Linked DNA regions of Homo sapiens: region 2 is linked to region 1. The links are contacts of gene promoters, found by promoter capture Hi-C in blood cells and fetal thymus (Javierre and others, 2016). All regions are on one chromosome and are shown on one strand. The core of a region is centred on a gene start or on the middle of the fragment in contact, and the rest is flanking DNA. Distances in the headings are between cores, read along the strand shown. Region 1 holds the start of MPPE1 (metallophosphoesterase 1). Region 2 has its middle 56 kb from the start of IMPA2.

The links. Contacts are between HindIII fragments. The CHiCAGO score rates a contact against its expected background, and 5 or more counts as called.
Region 2: a contact is called between a fragment that was not itself captured here and the fragment with the promoter of MPPE1 in region 1, in 16 of 17 cell types (total B cells, monocytes, naive CD8 T cells and 13 more). The highest score is 8.3, in total B cells.

The regions. Positions count from the first base shown.
Region 1 is chr18:11,906,716-11,914,501 of GRCh38, forward strand. MPPE1 (metallophosphoesterase 1) reads right to left here and starts at 1,602. Exons shown (of 11, transcript NM_023075.6): 1 at 1,486-1,602. LOC101927511 (a long non-coding RNA gene) reads right to left here. Exons shown (of 4, transcript XR_007066296.1): 3 at 7,480-7,711; 4 at 3,834-4,147. RefSeq lists a silencer at 1,995-2,394. The HindIII fragment of the contact is 5,797 bases long and covers 1-2,992 here.
Region 2 is chr18:12,033,325-12,041,110 of GRCh38, forward strand. No RefSeq gene overlaps it. Among named protein-coding and RNA genes, the nearest start is that of IMPA2, 56 kb to the left of the region's middle. RefSeq lists an enhancer at 4,874-5,375 and silencers at 5,323-5,392, 5,773-5,842. The HindIII fragment of the contact is 6,123 bases long and covers 631-6,753 here.

The DNA.
Region 1 (7,786 bases), core at 352-2,851:
TAGTGGCACATGCCTGTAATCCCAGCTACTCGGGAGGCTGAGGCAGGAGAATCGCTTGAATGCGGGAGGCGGAGGTTGTAGTGAGCCGAGATCGCGCCATTGCACTCCAGCCTGGGCAACAAGAGCGAAACTCCGTCTCAAAAAAAAAAAAAAAAAATTTATCTTTGAACTTTTCAATTTGTATTTATTTATTTATTTATTTTTAGAGATAGGGTCTCACTCCACCGCCCATTGTAAATCAAAAATGAAATCCTAAGACCCCTCAACCATCTGCATGGACCCCACCAAGGGCATTCCAGAGTTAACCTTGTTTTAGGTTGTTTTAAGCAAAACTTGTTTAGGCCATGATGGGAAGTGGGGGTGGAACTTGACACATTTCATCCTCCTCCCTTTTAGAATTCAGGAAAAGCAGACCAGCATTTAACATGCTGGACACTTAACTTACCTGGAGGCTTCATCTGCATGATAAAACTTCAGTCTCCACAGCCTCTTATTGTAACCCAAACATTCCTTTCCATTGATAATAAATCTTTCAACCAAATGCCAATCAGAAAATTTTCAATCTACCTATAACCCGGAAACCCCCGACCCACCCACCTCCTCAGCTGTCATACCTTTATGGACCGAACCAATGTACATCTTAATCTTACATGTATTTGACTGATGACTCATGGCTCCCCTAAAATGCATAAAACCACACTGGGCCCCGACCACCTTGCGTACGCGTTCTCAGGGTCTCCAAATGGCTGTGTCACCAGCCATGGTCACTCATATTTGGCTCAGAATTAATCCCTTCAAATATTTTATAGAGTTTTGACTTTTTGTCAACCGCAGGCTGCGTCACAGCTCGCTGCAGCCCCAAACTCCTGCGCTGAAGCGATCCTTTCCCCCACAACTTCTCGAGTAGCAGGGACTTCAGGTGCGTGCCACTACACCTGGCTTTTTTTTTTTTTTTTTTTGGTACTTTTGTTGTTATGGTGGGGGCGGGGGACTTGCTATGTTGCCCAGGCTGGTCTCGCATCTCTGGGATCAAGCCATCCTCCCACTTCAGCGTCCCAGAGTGCTGGAATTACAGGCCTAAGCAACGGCACCCAGCCTATCTTTTAATTTTTAACTTCAAAGTTATCGTTAAAAATCTAATCCCCCCAAAATATGAAAAAAATACTTAATATGCACTGACCTGTAGTTTTTCTCTAATTCACTATCTTAAATATATTAATTGCAATCTCATCAACTGCGACTTGCATTTGAAATTTTCCACCTTAAACGGTATTTTTTGATAAGATGGATTTTTTAAAAAATCTACACCAGCAAACTAGAGTGAGAGACCCCTGCAAAGTAATACATGGGCCTTAAGTCACCGAGATTTTCCAGCAAATAATTTGCAGAATGCTGTTTTTCCTAGGTTAACTTGCAATCCTAACACGGAAGGAGGTTCCGTTTTTAGAAGTTTAAATGTTGTCACACGGGCGCAAGAATACATACAACAGCCATGCTTTCCAGCTCTGCGCACAACGCCAGGCAGATGGGGAGCACCGGGCGGTGCGGGAGCCCTTTCACCAGGGCAGGGTGGCTTCGGTGGCCGAGGGACCCGGGAACTGCAGCCGGAGCCGGCGCGCACCCAGCCAACTTCCTGTTTCCGCGGTAGCGCGCGGGCCTGTCACTGAAGCCCCGCCCCGGCGACCTCAGGCGGGCGGGGAAGACCGAGTCTTCCCGGAGCCGCTTCGTCCGCCCGGCGCCGGAGTCCCACGGCCGGTTTGCGGAAGCGGGTCGTCTGAAGGGGCCCGGCGGGTGGCTCCCGGGTCTCCGCGGCCTGTGATCCCCAGAGCGGACAACCGCAGCTGGGGCTCCGTGCGCAACTCGGAGTAAAGGCCGGAACCTACGCTCGGCGGCCGCGTCCCGGCCCCTAGCGCCCTCCGCGAAGTGCCTGGCAGGCTCGGCAGTCTGAGTGTCGCGTTACAGAGTCCCCTGGGCAGTCACCGCTGAAGGGCGGGGGACGCGGGAAAGGCATTTTGGGGACACAGGAGAGCTGCGAGGGCGAAGCACGGGCGAGCTGTCGTTAGGGCCCAGGAAAGGCCCGTTGCGGGGCGCACAGGCGGGCAGGGGAACTCGCGCCCCGCGCCGCGCGCCCGGCCTCCTGACGCCAGGGCCGGCTTCTGAGCACAGCCACCGCGGCGGCCGGGGGCGGCCACTGCTCCCCGCGAGCCCGCTTCCGCGCCCCAGAAGCCCCCAGAGCCCGCGTCCGAGCTCCAGGCCTTGGAGGAGCCAGGCGGGCAGCTGACAGCCCCGGAGCCGCTCCCGGGTTCCGCGCGCGGTGGCAGCCAGGCCGTGCCTCCCCGTTCCCCTCCCGCGCCGCGCTGCCCCTCCGGGACCCACCAGGCCTGGCTGCGCCTCTTTCCTCTCCTCCCCCGGAGCCTTGGAAAGTGCCCTCCAGAGATGTGCTTAGGAAGTGTGTGATGAATAAAGGAGACAATCAGGATAACTATAATATTTATTATGCACTTGCTTTTTTCTCACTGATGTTACTAATTTTAATGGTGTAGCGCGGCGCGTTCCAGTTTTCTAAGTGCTCTCACATCCGTTCAAAAAATCCTCAAAATAAGCCTGTATATTAAAAGCAGGAGCCATTATTTCATATTTCAAGAAGTAAACATGCTCAGAGTAATAATCCACATAGAGCCTTCCAACCAGTCAATTCTGGTACATTTTCACAAATCTATGAGTGTGGTTAATACACGGAGATGTGGTTTGAGGAATTATATAGGACACAGCCAGCAAAATGCCTGGTATACAATAAGTATGCGGTAAATGGTTATTATTATTAAGAATATTGTAATATCTTCAGATATGATCAGGTGAACAACTTTGACATAATCGAAACTGGGACAGCCTGATTCCATAAACACACTAATATGGCACCGTGGATTGTTTGCAGCCTCACCTCTAAAGTATTCTCTCTGACTAACAAAGAAAGGGAAACTAGAACCAGTTAAGCTTATAACACTAATCACAGGCTAAAGGAAATACAGGGGCCAAATGAACCCATTAGATTACACCACCAGGAAGTAATCTGCCAAATCCAGAATGTGGGAAATTCTACAAACCAAATGACCCAATTTCTTTTTTCAAAAATAAATGTTCAGAGGCTGAAGTGGGAGGATTGCTTAAGGCCAGAGTTCAAGGCTGTAGTGAGCTATGATCACAGCTGTGAATAGCCACTGCACTCCAGGCTGGGCAACACAGCTAGACCCCCCATGTCTTTAAAAAAAAGAGGGTGGGGGGACCTTGAGAGACACATTAGCCAAATGCAATTTGTGGACCTTGTTTGGGTCATGATTAAGACAAACAAACTTTTACATAAATAAATGGCATTTTTAAAAACATTGGCGGCCAGGCGCGGTGGTTCTTGCCTGTAATGCCAGCACTTTGGGAGGCCGAGGCGGGCAGATCAGGAGGTCAGGAGATCAAGACCATCCTGGCTAACACGGTGAAACCCCGTCTCTACTAAAAAAAAAAAAAAAAAAAAAAAAATTAGCCGGGTGTAGTGGCAGGTGCCTGTAGTCCCAGCTACTCGGGAGGTTGAGGCAGGAGAATGGTGTGAACCCGGGAGGCAGAGCTTGCAGTGAGCCCAGATCACGCCACTGCACTCCAGCCTGGGCGACAGAGTGAGACTCCATCTCAAAAAAAAAAAAAAAAATTGGGAAACTTAAACATGGACTGAATGTTAGGTGACATTAAATAACTTCAGGTAATTTTATTACGATAATACCATAGTGGCTATGATTTTTAAAGGCCTCAGAGAAACATATTAACATATTTACAGGCAAATTATATTATTTCTGGGATTTGCTTTAATAAAATTTAATAACAAATTCCTGGAGTTTTTTAGAGAACAAAGTGAGAGATAGGAGAAACAATATTGGCAAAGTGTTTAATGTTTAAGCAAGGAGATGGGTACATGGGCATTGTGCTAGGCCTAATTATGCCCCCCAAACATGCCCACATTCTAATCTTCAAACCTGTGAACAAGTTACCTGACATGGCAAAAGGGGCTTTGCAAGTATGCGATGAAGAACCTTGAGATGGGAGATGATCCTGGATTATCCCAGTGAGCCCAGTCTCATTGGGTCCTTCCGAGAACCTTTACCTGCAAATGAGAATTGGAAAGAGACGTAACACTGGAAGGAAGTTCAGAGAGATTCAACCTGACAAGGATGTGGCCGCTGGTGCTGACTCCGGAGATGGAGGAAGGGGCCACAAGCCCAGGAATGCCACAGGTGGCCTCTCAAGGTGGAAAAGGCAAGGAATGAATGATCCTGCAGATGCTCAGGTGTCCTGCCATCACCTGAGTTTTAGCCCAGTGAGCCCCGTGTGGGCTCCTGACCTACAGGACTTGTACGGTAGTAAATTTGGGTTGTTTTAGGTCACCAAAGTGGTAGTAATTTGTTACAGCAGCCATAGAAAACTAATACAAGCATTTGCTATATTTCTCTCTATGTTTTTGTAAGTTTAAGATTTTTTTCTGCTGGGTGCGGTGGCTTACGCCTGTAATCCCAGCACTTTGGGAGGCCAAGGAGGGCAGATCACAATGTCAGGAGTTCGAGATCAGCCTGGCCAATATGGTGAAACCACGGCTCTACTAAAAATACAGAAATTAGCCAGGAGCGGTGGCATGCGTCTGTATTCCCGGCTACTCGGGAGGCTGAGGCAGGAGAATCACTTGAACCCAGGAGGTGGAGGTTGCAGTGAGCCGAGATCGTGCCACTGCACTCCAGCCTGGGTGACGGAGTGAGATTCTGTCTAAAAAAAAAAAAAATTGTAATAAAATATTTATTAAGTCCATAAAACATAAACCTAAGAAATACATTTTTAAGGTAATTCATTTACACCTGAAGTGTAATCTGACCAACCATAGAATTATACCATGCATTTTAATTTCCAAAAGAATTATATGTCATAAATCCCTTTTTAAAAAGCATTGTTGAGTATGGTTAGTAAAATAATGTTAATTTTCAAAGTCACAGATATAATAAAGCATCACGGATATAATAAAGCATGGCATGACCTATTCCTGACTTTATTTATTTATTTATTTTTGAGACAGAGTCTTACTTTGTCACCCAGACTAGAGTGCAGTGGCTCATCTTGGCTCACTGCAACCTCTGCTTCCCGGGTTCAAGCCATGCTCCTGCCTCAGCTTCCTGAGTGGCCGGGATTACAGGCACCCGCCACCGCACCCAGCTAATTTTTGCATTTTTAATAGAGACAGGGTTTTGCCATGTTGGCCAGGCTGGTCTCGAACTCCTAACCTCAAGTGATCCGCCCACCTCGGCCTCCCAAAGTGCTGGGATTACAGGTCTGAGCCACCGCGCCTGGCCCCATTCCTAACTTTAGAATTAGTTTATCTATACCGATTGTTATCAAAATCTGCATATTGACATGACTTTTAAGATGCTGACATTTATAAAGGTAATTTTCCTTCTAGCATATATTAATTTCAGGAAACAGATAACACAATTAATAAAATATATAAAACAGAATCGTTAAAGAAAATAATCTTCCCAAATATGTAAAAGTAGAATAGTTTAAAAAACAGTACCGAATATTTTAATGTAATTTCTAATTTTCAATTAATGAATATTAGGCATTTTCTATTATATGGATAAATTACCCACATTTTGTCAAATTTGCTAAAACAGTCCGGGCGCGGTGGTGCACACCTGTAATCCTAGCACTTTGGGAGGCCAAGGCGGGCAGATCACTGGAGGTCAGGAGTTTGAGGCCAGCCTGGCCAACATGGTGAAACCCCATCTCTACAAAGAATACAAAAAAATTAGCCAGGCGTAGTGGTGGGCGCCTGTAATCCTAGCTGCTCCGGAGCCAGAGGAAGAGGCAGGAGAATCACTTGAACTCTGGAGGCAGAGGTTGCAGTGAGCTGATATCGCGCCATTGCACTCCAGCCTGGGCAACAAGAGTGAAATTCCGTCTCAAAAAAAAAAATTGCTAAAACAGATAACATTTATTAAAGTCCATAGTTTTAACTAATTTTATTAGTTGACTTTTAATGCCATTAACCAATTTTTTTTTTTTTGAGACCAAATCTGGTTCTGTCTCCCAGGCTGGAATGCAGTGGCATGATCTCAGCTCACTGCAACCTCCACCTCCTGGGTTTAAGGGATTCTCATGCCTCAGCATCCGGGGTAGCTGGGATTACAAGTGTGTGTCACCATACCTGGCTTTTTTTTTTTTTTTTTTTTTTAGAGACAGGGTTTACCCATGTTGGCAAGGCTGTTCACAAACTCCTGACCTCAAGTGATCTGTCTGCCTCAGCCTCGTAAAGTGCTAGGATTACAGGCTTGAGCCACCACACCCGGCCTACTTGGGGTATTTGGTTTTGTTTCTTGAGACAAGGTTTCATTGTGTTCCCGGGGTGGCCTCAAACTCCGAGGTTTAAGTGATCCTCCCATCTTAGCCTCCTAAGTAACTGGGACCAGAGGTGTTCCCCAATGTGCCGGGCTAACTGGTTTTAATTCTACAGAGCACTCTTTAAATCACTGTTTCCTCTCTAAACATCTTCAGTTTCATATTGTACTTCACTGTCTTGTAAACTACTTTTCTGTGGGAGCAGCTACAGTGAATAACATTGTGGTATACATAGTGGTATACATGGTTGTGATATACATTGTTGTGTTGTGGTAACATTGTGGTATCTTTGCCGCCTTGTATTTAAAAAATCCTGGCTTACACTAAGGGAGCCTTGGAAACTCCCAATACTTTGGGAGGCCGAGGTAGATGGGTCACCTAAGGTCAGGAGCTCAAAACCCAACATGGCAAAACACCATCACTGCTTAAAAAAAGTAATAAAAAATTAGCCCAGTGTAATGACACACACCTGTAGTCTCAGCTCTCCTGGAAGCTGAGGCAGGAGAATCGCTTGAACCCAGGAGGTGGAGGTTACAGTGAGCCGAGATAGCGCCACTGCACTCCAGCCTGAGCAACAGAGGAAGACTCTGTCGTAAGAAAACAAAAAACAGGTGGGGCCTGGCTCCTCACCCACCCGTCAGCTCCAGGACTGCCCCTTCCTGGGCCAACTGGCCAAACAACTGGGAAGAGCCCCCAACTCCAACAGGATTATTTTCCCAGCAGGAGTTACAGATGCAGCCACAGATTGATGATCTGCCTTAACATGATCGGAGATGCTTTGTAATCTACTGTCCAGCTGAAAGCGCTCATGTTATGAGGAAGAAACTACAAATGATGTTCAAATCTATTTTAAACTATTTTGGGCCATTTTTATGTACCTTTGGGTTCAGGCATTATTTGGGGGTTTTTGTTTCCAAAGTAACTAAATAAAGTCATATTGCTTATTAAAAAGAAAACAAAAAACAACAAGAAAACTATATTCATTATCTTGCAGCTCCCACTGGTCAGGAGTCTGGGGCTTGGTTTAGCGGGTCCAGCTGCAATCCAGCTGCTCACCAGGATGTGGCATTGGCATCTGCATCTTCTGAGTCGTCTTCCACCTCTCTGGCTTTGGGATGAATTCAGTTCCTTGTGGTCATAGGTTTAGGCCCTCAGCTCCCAGAGCCACCTACCAATCTCAGCCCAGTGACCCTCTCCCAGCACAGGCGGTTGCTTCTTTAAGGCCAACAGGAGAAAGTGTCTGCTGCTGCCTCATCTTTCTCCAACTTCCATCCCTGACATCTGGACCCTGTTAACAGATGCAGGTGATTAGATCAGACTCACCCAAGATCATCTCTCTTTTGAATGGCTTAATACCAACTCA
Region 2 (7,786 bases), core at 2,442-4,941, 130 kb after region 1:
CCCAAATAAAAAGTAAAACATTTGTCCTAGTGCATCACTGTCACCACTCAGACCAGGAGTCAGGACGCGGATTGATGTTCAGGTAGCTGTGTGGCCTTGAGAGGGCCATGTCAGCTCTCTTTTGGTGCCAGGTGAAGTCTGTACTGGGGGTCTGGCTGCCTCCCTCACAGGGTTGGGAGCATGTCCCAGGACGACACCTAGGAGAGTACCATGAAACCAGAGAATGACGGAGGCAGTCTCAGTCAGCGTTGAGATTTATTTTGCCAAGATTGAGGATGTGCCTGGGAAAAGGACACAAGCCACTGTAGGATCTGTGGTCTGCACTTTTTTCCAAAAAGGATTTTGGGCGCTTCAGTATTTAAAGAGGAAAGAAAACAAAAGAGGGTATGGTCTCATCCTTGATTAGAGCTCGTTAATCCACATACTGCAGGCAAGGAGGGGGAAGCGGAACAGTGGGTTACATGGGGGAGACGGTATTTTTCCTCTCCTCTCATCCCTCACCGGGAAGATATGCTGTTAATTTACATCGTCTGGGTGAGAGAGGCCACCTGGGAAGACACTGCCTTCTATCTCTAGCCATTCTGTTGAGGAACAAAAGGAAGGTCGGTGTTCCTCCTGACTCAGCTTCCAAGCTTACCTTTTCCCTTGGGCATAGTGAGTTTGGGGGTCTCCAGATTTTACTTTCCATACACATCAACTGTGGTTGGTTTTTTGTTGTTTTTGTTTTTTACAGTTAAATATATTATTAAAGCATGAAAAGATCATGATGTCTCCAATAACCAAATGTTATTCAAGAAAACTAGAAATATTTAGATTATACCACAGCTTAGACAGGCTTTGCCTGATTTATTAAGCCATTTACAATCAGTTCTATCATCCATACCCAGGACTTCCGGGCTGGAAAAATACATCCTATAGCTTTCCCAGTAGGAACCACATTCATCATTGCTTTTTTCTGTGGAGGCAATGTATAAATAGAGCAGCTTTTTGAAAACATAAGCAGAGGCCCAAATCAGTGGCCTAAAACTTGGATGATCTGGGGAGGCACCAGGCCATCTGAACCAGCGCTTTGTCCCCAGCAGATGTTGGGACATGCAGGGGCTATGCATGTCAGCACAGGGGGCCACTCAGCAGCCGGGTAAACTTGAGGTACTGGCCTAGCCTCTCTGTGCCCCTCTGTAAAATGAATTAAACTGCACTCCTCCCAGGACTGTGTGGATCAAATGAAATAGTGCATGCACGTGACCACATCAAACAGATGGACAAGAAGAGCAGAAAGACTGCAGGAGCCAGGACAGAGGACCCAGAGTCAAGGGCTTCTCACCCCAACTGCTTCTTGCCTCTTTCTCTGCCCTGGACTTCCTTTCCCAGTTTCAGCCCCACAAATTGCTTCCTCTTTGTGTGAGTGAAGGCTTCAGGGTGGAGTGAAGCTAGTCACTTGTAGAGGCCCCTGTAGAGGAAGATGAAGATGAGAAGTCCATGTAGATGGCATCACCGAGTGCCAGGACTGGATGCCCCAAACACCACAAGCCATGTCGCATCCTGGGGGTCGCCTGGGCAGGCCTCTCTACCATTTAGTCACTGCAGTCAGCTACAGCCCACAGCAGATCTAAAACAAAAGCACCTGTAATCTCAGCATATTGGGAGGCTGAGGCGAGCAGATCACCTCAGGTCTGGAGTTCAAGACCAGCCTGGCCAACATGGTGAAACCCTGTCTCTACTAAAAATACAAAAACTAGCCAGGCATGGTGTCGTGCACCTGTAATCCCAGCTAGTTACATGGCTGAGGTGGGAGACTCGTTTGAACCCAGGAGGCAGGGGTTGCACTGAACCAAGATTGCATCACTGCCCTCCAGCCTGGGTGATAGAGTGAGACCCTGTCTCAGAAAAAAACAACAAAAAACCCCACAAAAGCAGTGAGTGTGGGATGGGTGACGCAGATGGAAGATGAAGACGTAGGGGACAAAAGCAAGGGGCTATTGCAAAGGATCTGGAACTGCAGCTTCAAAGCCAGGAGTGCAGAGCCCGTGGGGCAGGGCCACCATCACTAAACTGGAATGGAGAGGCCAAAATCTGAACCTGAAGTTGGAAGAAGAGGGGAACAACACCGCTGGCCTCTGGGAATGGGAAGATCCTAAGGGGTGACTCCAGTGCCCAAGTTCCTATGCAAGAAGTAGCCACACAACTTCCCAGAGTGTGGCATCTCACAAGGAGCAGAGGTTTCAGTTTGTCACTAGTCACATGTCCCGTCTTACCAGATGCATAGGTAAACAGGAGCCCTGACCTCCAGGAACCCCCTGGACTCTGCAGGCTCACAGTGCCCGCGTGACAGCACCGAGCAGGCCAGCTGGAGATGTGAGGGGGGTGGGGAAAAGGATCTGGAGCAGGATGTTCAGGTAGAGGCAGAGAGAAATGGCTAGGGCTGCAGTGGGATAAACACGTGGTTCTGCTTGGCTGCAGGAGGCATCTTGTTGCTTGGAGGGTTGGGGAGGTGATGCTTAAACACATAGGCCAACTCGGGGCCTTGGGCACCATGTGGAGCAGTCCAAACTTTGTGCTGGAAACACGGGGAGGATACTTGTGATACTGCGTGTGTCAGTCCTTCTACTGGAGAGCTGGTTCTAACCATCATCAAGTGAGAGGAGAGGAAGCCCTCAGGTGGCAGGTGTATCTCTATTCGGTGAGAATGTCATGGTTGTCAGTCATGCTATAGGGTTGCCCTCCAGTAGAATGATCTGATATGTCTATGCAGAAAGTAATTTGGAGGGTTTTGACAGTGTCTCCTGTGGGCTTCTCGGACTGAATAATGGAATCTCAGAAGGGGATGTCCCTTAGCAATCACCTGTTCCAACCTTCTGACCTCCAGGTCTCACCAGTCACTAGTTTTGTGGTAGATTGCAGGCATGTCTGGTGCGTCCAACACTAGAAAAGTCACGGCATTGGACAGGGAATCCCCTGCCAACCTTGGGGGAAGGAGCTGGCGTGTAGGGCCAAGAGTTGCTCAGGTTGGATGGTGTGCCACCTCATAGCCCTTGCCCAGATCCAGACAGCTGGCAATCCTCCATTTCCTGCCCCTGCCCGAGGATGGCCTCAGTCCTCATACCTGTGCCGGCTGAGAGTGTCACATCCACCATCTGGACCACGTTCCCCAAAAACCATCTCAGTAAGGGTCAGAATGGCCTGCAACTGCTGCCAACTGGAAGTTTCCATGCTGTGAAGTCATTAATTATCCACCTATAAGTCTGGAATGCCATCAGGTGGTTCCAAGGTCTCCGCCTTTGACAGGGTGGTGGCTCCCAGCCACTCCCATGCATCAGGCCTGCCTGTGCACGGAGGGCCAAGTCTGTTGGGCCCCTTGGCTTGGAGAAGAGTTTCACTGAGATATTAGTAACTGTGAGTCACCACACGCAGCAGTTGTGCAGGTGTCAGGCTAAAAAGAAGCTCAGATAGGACCCAGAACAAATGGGCTCACTTGGGACTAGGCAAGGGATTATAGTTCAGGATGTGTGTGCTATAATGATGGATCAGGGCATATCCAGGGATGTCGTGGCAAAGATAAATTTTTATTTTTATTTTTTTTTGAGATGGAGTCTCGCTCTGCTCTTGGCTCAATACAACCTCTGCCTTCTGGGTTAAAGTGGGTCTTCTGCCTCGGCCTCCCGAGTAGCTGGGATTGCAGGCACTCGCCACCATACCCGGCTAATTTTTGTATTTTTAGTAGAGATGGGGTTTCGCCACGTTGGTCAGGCTGGTTTCGAACTCCTGACCTCAAGCGATCTGCCTGCCTTGGCCTCCCAAAGTGCTGGGATTACAGGCATGAGCCACTGCACCTAGCCAAAGAGGAATCTTTTAAAGACAAACAGATGTACACATGAGCGGCTTTGAAACAAGGCTCGTAGGTGACAGAAGCTCACTGCAGGAGTTGGCTCTGTTGATTGGGGGAGGCGGCTGTTGCCAGGTCAGTGTTGCGTGCTGGTGGCAGATCTGGAATACTGCGGCCTCAAGAAGTCCTTGCACTAAGTCGTGATGCTGGTCTGGGTGCAGGAAAGTCTTGGGATAAGTCCTGTTTCAGGCATGTGGGCGTGAGGGCTTCTTGATGGCCTCCCACCACTCCATTTTGCTGGAGTTTAATGTAAGTGACTCCATTTTGGTACCAGCAGCTTTCTCAAAGGTTTTGGGGTTTTTTTGCTTTTGGGTTTCAACAACAGGAATTGAATCAAAGCACTTAACATGTGTTACTATTAAGATATGTCTCTGTTTTCACATTCTATAGAGTTAGTTTTTGTGTTTTTTTTTTTCACTTTGTAAAAGAAGGGAATATATATTTAGGTTTGATATCTCCAGATTTTAGGCCGGGTGAGGTGGCTCATGCTTGTAATCCCAGCACTTTGGGAGGCCAAGGCAGGTGGATCACCTGAGGTCAGGAGTTTGAGACCAGCCTGACCAACATGGTGAAGCCCCGTCTCTACTAAAAATGCAAAAATATTAGCCGGGCATGGTGGCCCACGCGTGTAATACCAACTGCTTGGGAGGCTGAGGCAGGAGAATCGCTTGAACCTGGGAGGCGCAGGTTGCAGTGAGTCGAGATCACACCACTGCACTCCAGCCTGGGCAACAAGAGTGAAACTCCGTCTCAAAAAAGATATCTCCAGATTTTAATAAAATCAATATTCGTATGCAAAAGTTTAACAATGTTTCCCTTTTTGCATTATTTGAACTAAATGCAGTTGGCCTTCTACCTGTTCTCCTGGCAGAAGGCGAAGGTGGAATGTCCCAGCTGCCTACTAGGCAATAGTGCCTATGGCGAAAACAGCTCCTGGCTGGCAGGGGGAAGCTGATTTGGGAGGCGCCATCACTAAGTAATGGAAGAGAGCTATGCTATGGGTGTGGTGATTCCTGCTAGGGGCACCCTGGGGCTCCTGGAGAGACTGGTTTCTGCAGGGAATGAGCTTCCAGGCCAGGCGGCCTCCACACGTGGAGATGTGAGTGGGCTCTGTCCTCCCTCGCAGCCGGCTGTGTGGACTCTGTAAGGGCTCCTGAGGAAGAGGAATCCGGGGGACCGGTTCCTGTCCTGCAGCCTCAGGGTGGGCCGCTGCCAGGCGCGTCCCTGCACGCGTAGAAGGAAGGCGCTTTCAGACGCGAGGGCGGCTTCGTCATCTCCTCCCGGTGGGTGCGTGCTGCCAGCGCGGCCTTTAGATGCTTTGGGCTCCGACTCTGTCTCCCTCTTCTTCAAATCATGAGGGCACTCGGGCACCCCGGTGTGAGAGGCAGGTGGTCCCAGAGTCCGTGTCACCTGGGTCACATCTCCAAGGCCCCAGGCCGCCCCCGGGCGGCCCGCCCCCAGTCCCCGCAGCCCGGAGCAGGATGGGCCCGGGCTGGACTGAGGGGCTGGGGCGCCCGTCTGCCCTGATGGGCGCAGCTGTCTGGGACCACGCGGTGCCCCGGGTCGGCCCCCAGCGTCGCCATCACCTCCCCCAAGACGTCCCCACGCGGCGGCCACACTGCGCTCCAACGACCCGCGCTCTCGGACCCGGTCACACTGACGGCGGTGACTCCCGAGTTCCCGGGACCAAGCGGGCCCGCCCTGGGAGCCTGAGCTTTCTCCTCACTCTCAGGGAGCCCTGGGCTGCGAGGCGACAGCACAACGGGAACAGACTCGCCGGGACCAGCCACCACTTGGGGTTGTCTCTGCAACCCACGCTCCGCGCCGCCCTGACCCGGTACCGGCCCGCGCGGCGGTATAGGCGGGCGCTGGGTGCTGGTCGCTGGGCGCGGAGGCTTTCTTTGCCAAGGGCAGCGCGCCCCCTGCTGTCCGAGCGGAAGAACTGCGCAGCACGCGAGGCCGCAGACGCCCTCTGGTCAGGGCCCTGCAGAATGGCTTGGGCTTGGGACTCGTCCTGCGCCCTTGGGCGAGGCCATTTGTCCCTGGGTCGGGAGGAGCTTAACCGTGGGGCTCGGCTGTATCCGCGAATGGCAGGGGCACAGGACAGCGGGGACTGTGACGGAACACATGCCGTTATTCCATGCGTTGTGCCGTGCTGTGAGTGCATAACCAAAAAATACCAACTCAGTCCATGGCTAAAGTAAGGATATGCAATAAAAATTTAAGCCTGATGAGAAAAAAAGTGAGAAAACTAGTTCACCCAGAGTTTAATCAAGTTTTTGACAAGAGGGTGTTGTTTTTGTTTTTTAAATTGAAACAGGATTTGGGGGCTGAGTTATTGCATGCAGCAGGGTTAAACAAATTTACATTTTATCAAAATAAAAAGATGCTTAAAGAATACATTGATAGGCCGGCACGTTGGCTCACACTTGTAATCCCAACACTTTGGGAGGCCGAGGCAGGCGAATCACCTGAGGTCAGGAGTTCAAGACCAGGCTGGCCAACATAGTGAAACCCCATCTCTACTGCAAATACAAAAATTAGCCAGGTGTGGTGGCAGACGCCTGTAGTCCCAGCTACTCAGGAGCATGAGTCAGGAGAGCCTCTTGAACCCAGGAGGCCAAGGCTGCAGGAGCTGAGATTGCGCCATTGGACTCCAGCCTGGGTGACAAGAGCAAAACTCCATCTCAAAAAACAAACACACAAAAAACAATGATAGCATATATTTTATCTCTTGTAGTACAAATCCTCATATTGACTGTTGCAGAAAAATACCTGTAATGCCTTAAACAACAGTTTTAAGAAACATCAATGACCAGCAAGTTACAAACAAAATGCAGTGATCAACATATTTAACTGTCCATGTATGAAGCTTTTACAAACACATTCAGTCTTCACTGTCTGAGCAAATCAGTTTTAATTTCTTCATAGTCCTTCATCTGTCTTTTCACATGACACTTGGCCAGTGGTGAATTTATAATGTAACAGTATTTTAGACCAGTTTCCCTCTCCATACTTCCTCATGCTAGATCTCAAATTCATGTCTTCTTCCCAAAGCCATGCCTGTTTTTTTTTTTCTTTTTTTTTTTTCTGGATAGATGTTTTTCAGCAGTCACTGGTTGACTTTGAGGTACTCTCTTGTTTTCTGTGGCTCTTCTGATTTGACAAGAGGTTGTTTTTGTCTTTGTATGGCTACAACAGTAACTTTGGGAAACCATTTAATCAGGTTTGGCTAAGTATAAGATGGAATCTGAGTTATGCTTCCGGACACTGACGTGTGCAATTTTGTGTTGGTAACAAGTATTGCCAATTAAATAAATATTTGAAGAACGGAGCCATGGCTTTATTTTCAAAATCTTCCCAGAACACTCAGAAAAATCTTATTTAACTCGACTGAACATGCCAATCATCATTTATTTAATATGTCCCAACTACATCAGTTACTAGCTATGAGAGAGACCTTGGACAGGATTTTTACATTATCTGTGCCTCAGTGGCATCATCAGTGAAATAAAGATAATCATGGTACCTATTCATAGGTTAAGGATTAAGTGAGAGATATATTGCTGGTGAGGAAAAATGTTTCCTCCACCCTCTTAGGTTCAGTTAATGGGGACCTGCAAATTACACTGAAAATAAAGATTAATAAGAGAAAAAGTATACAATTTTTGTTAATGTTTATGTGCATAGGAATTCACAGAAAAGAAGTGGAACTCAAAGAAGCAGCGAGACTCAGGGGCTGATAACTTTAACAAAGAAAAGAGGATTTGACCTTGAGGGAGGACAAGGCACTGGGAAGTGACTGGGGAGTATTTGGGGAAGGTGATGGAAGACAAGGCTATTTCAGAAAGGCTTGTTTATGTGGACTCATCTTGGTGCTAACTCCGGTGATAAGAGCCACTC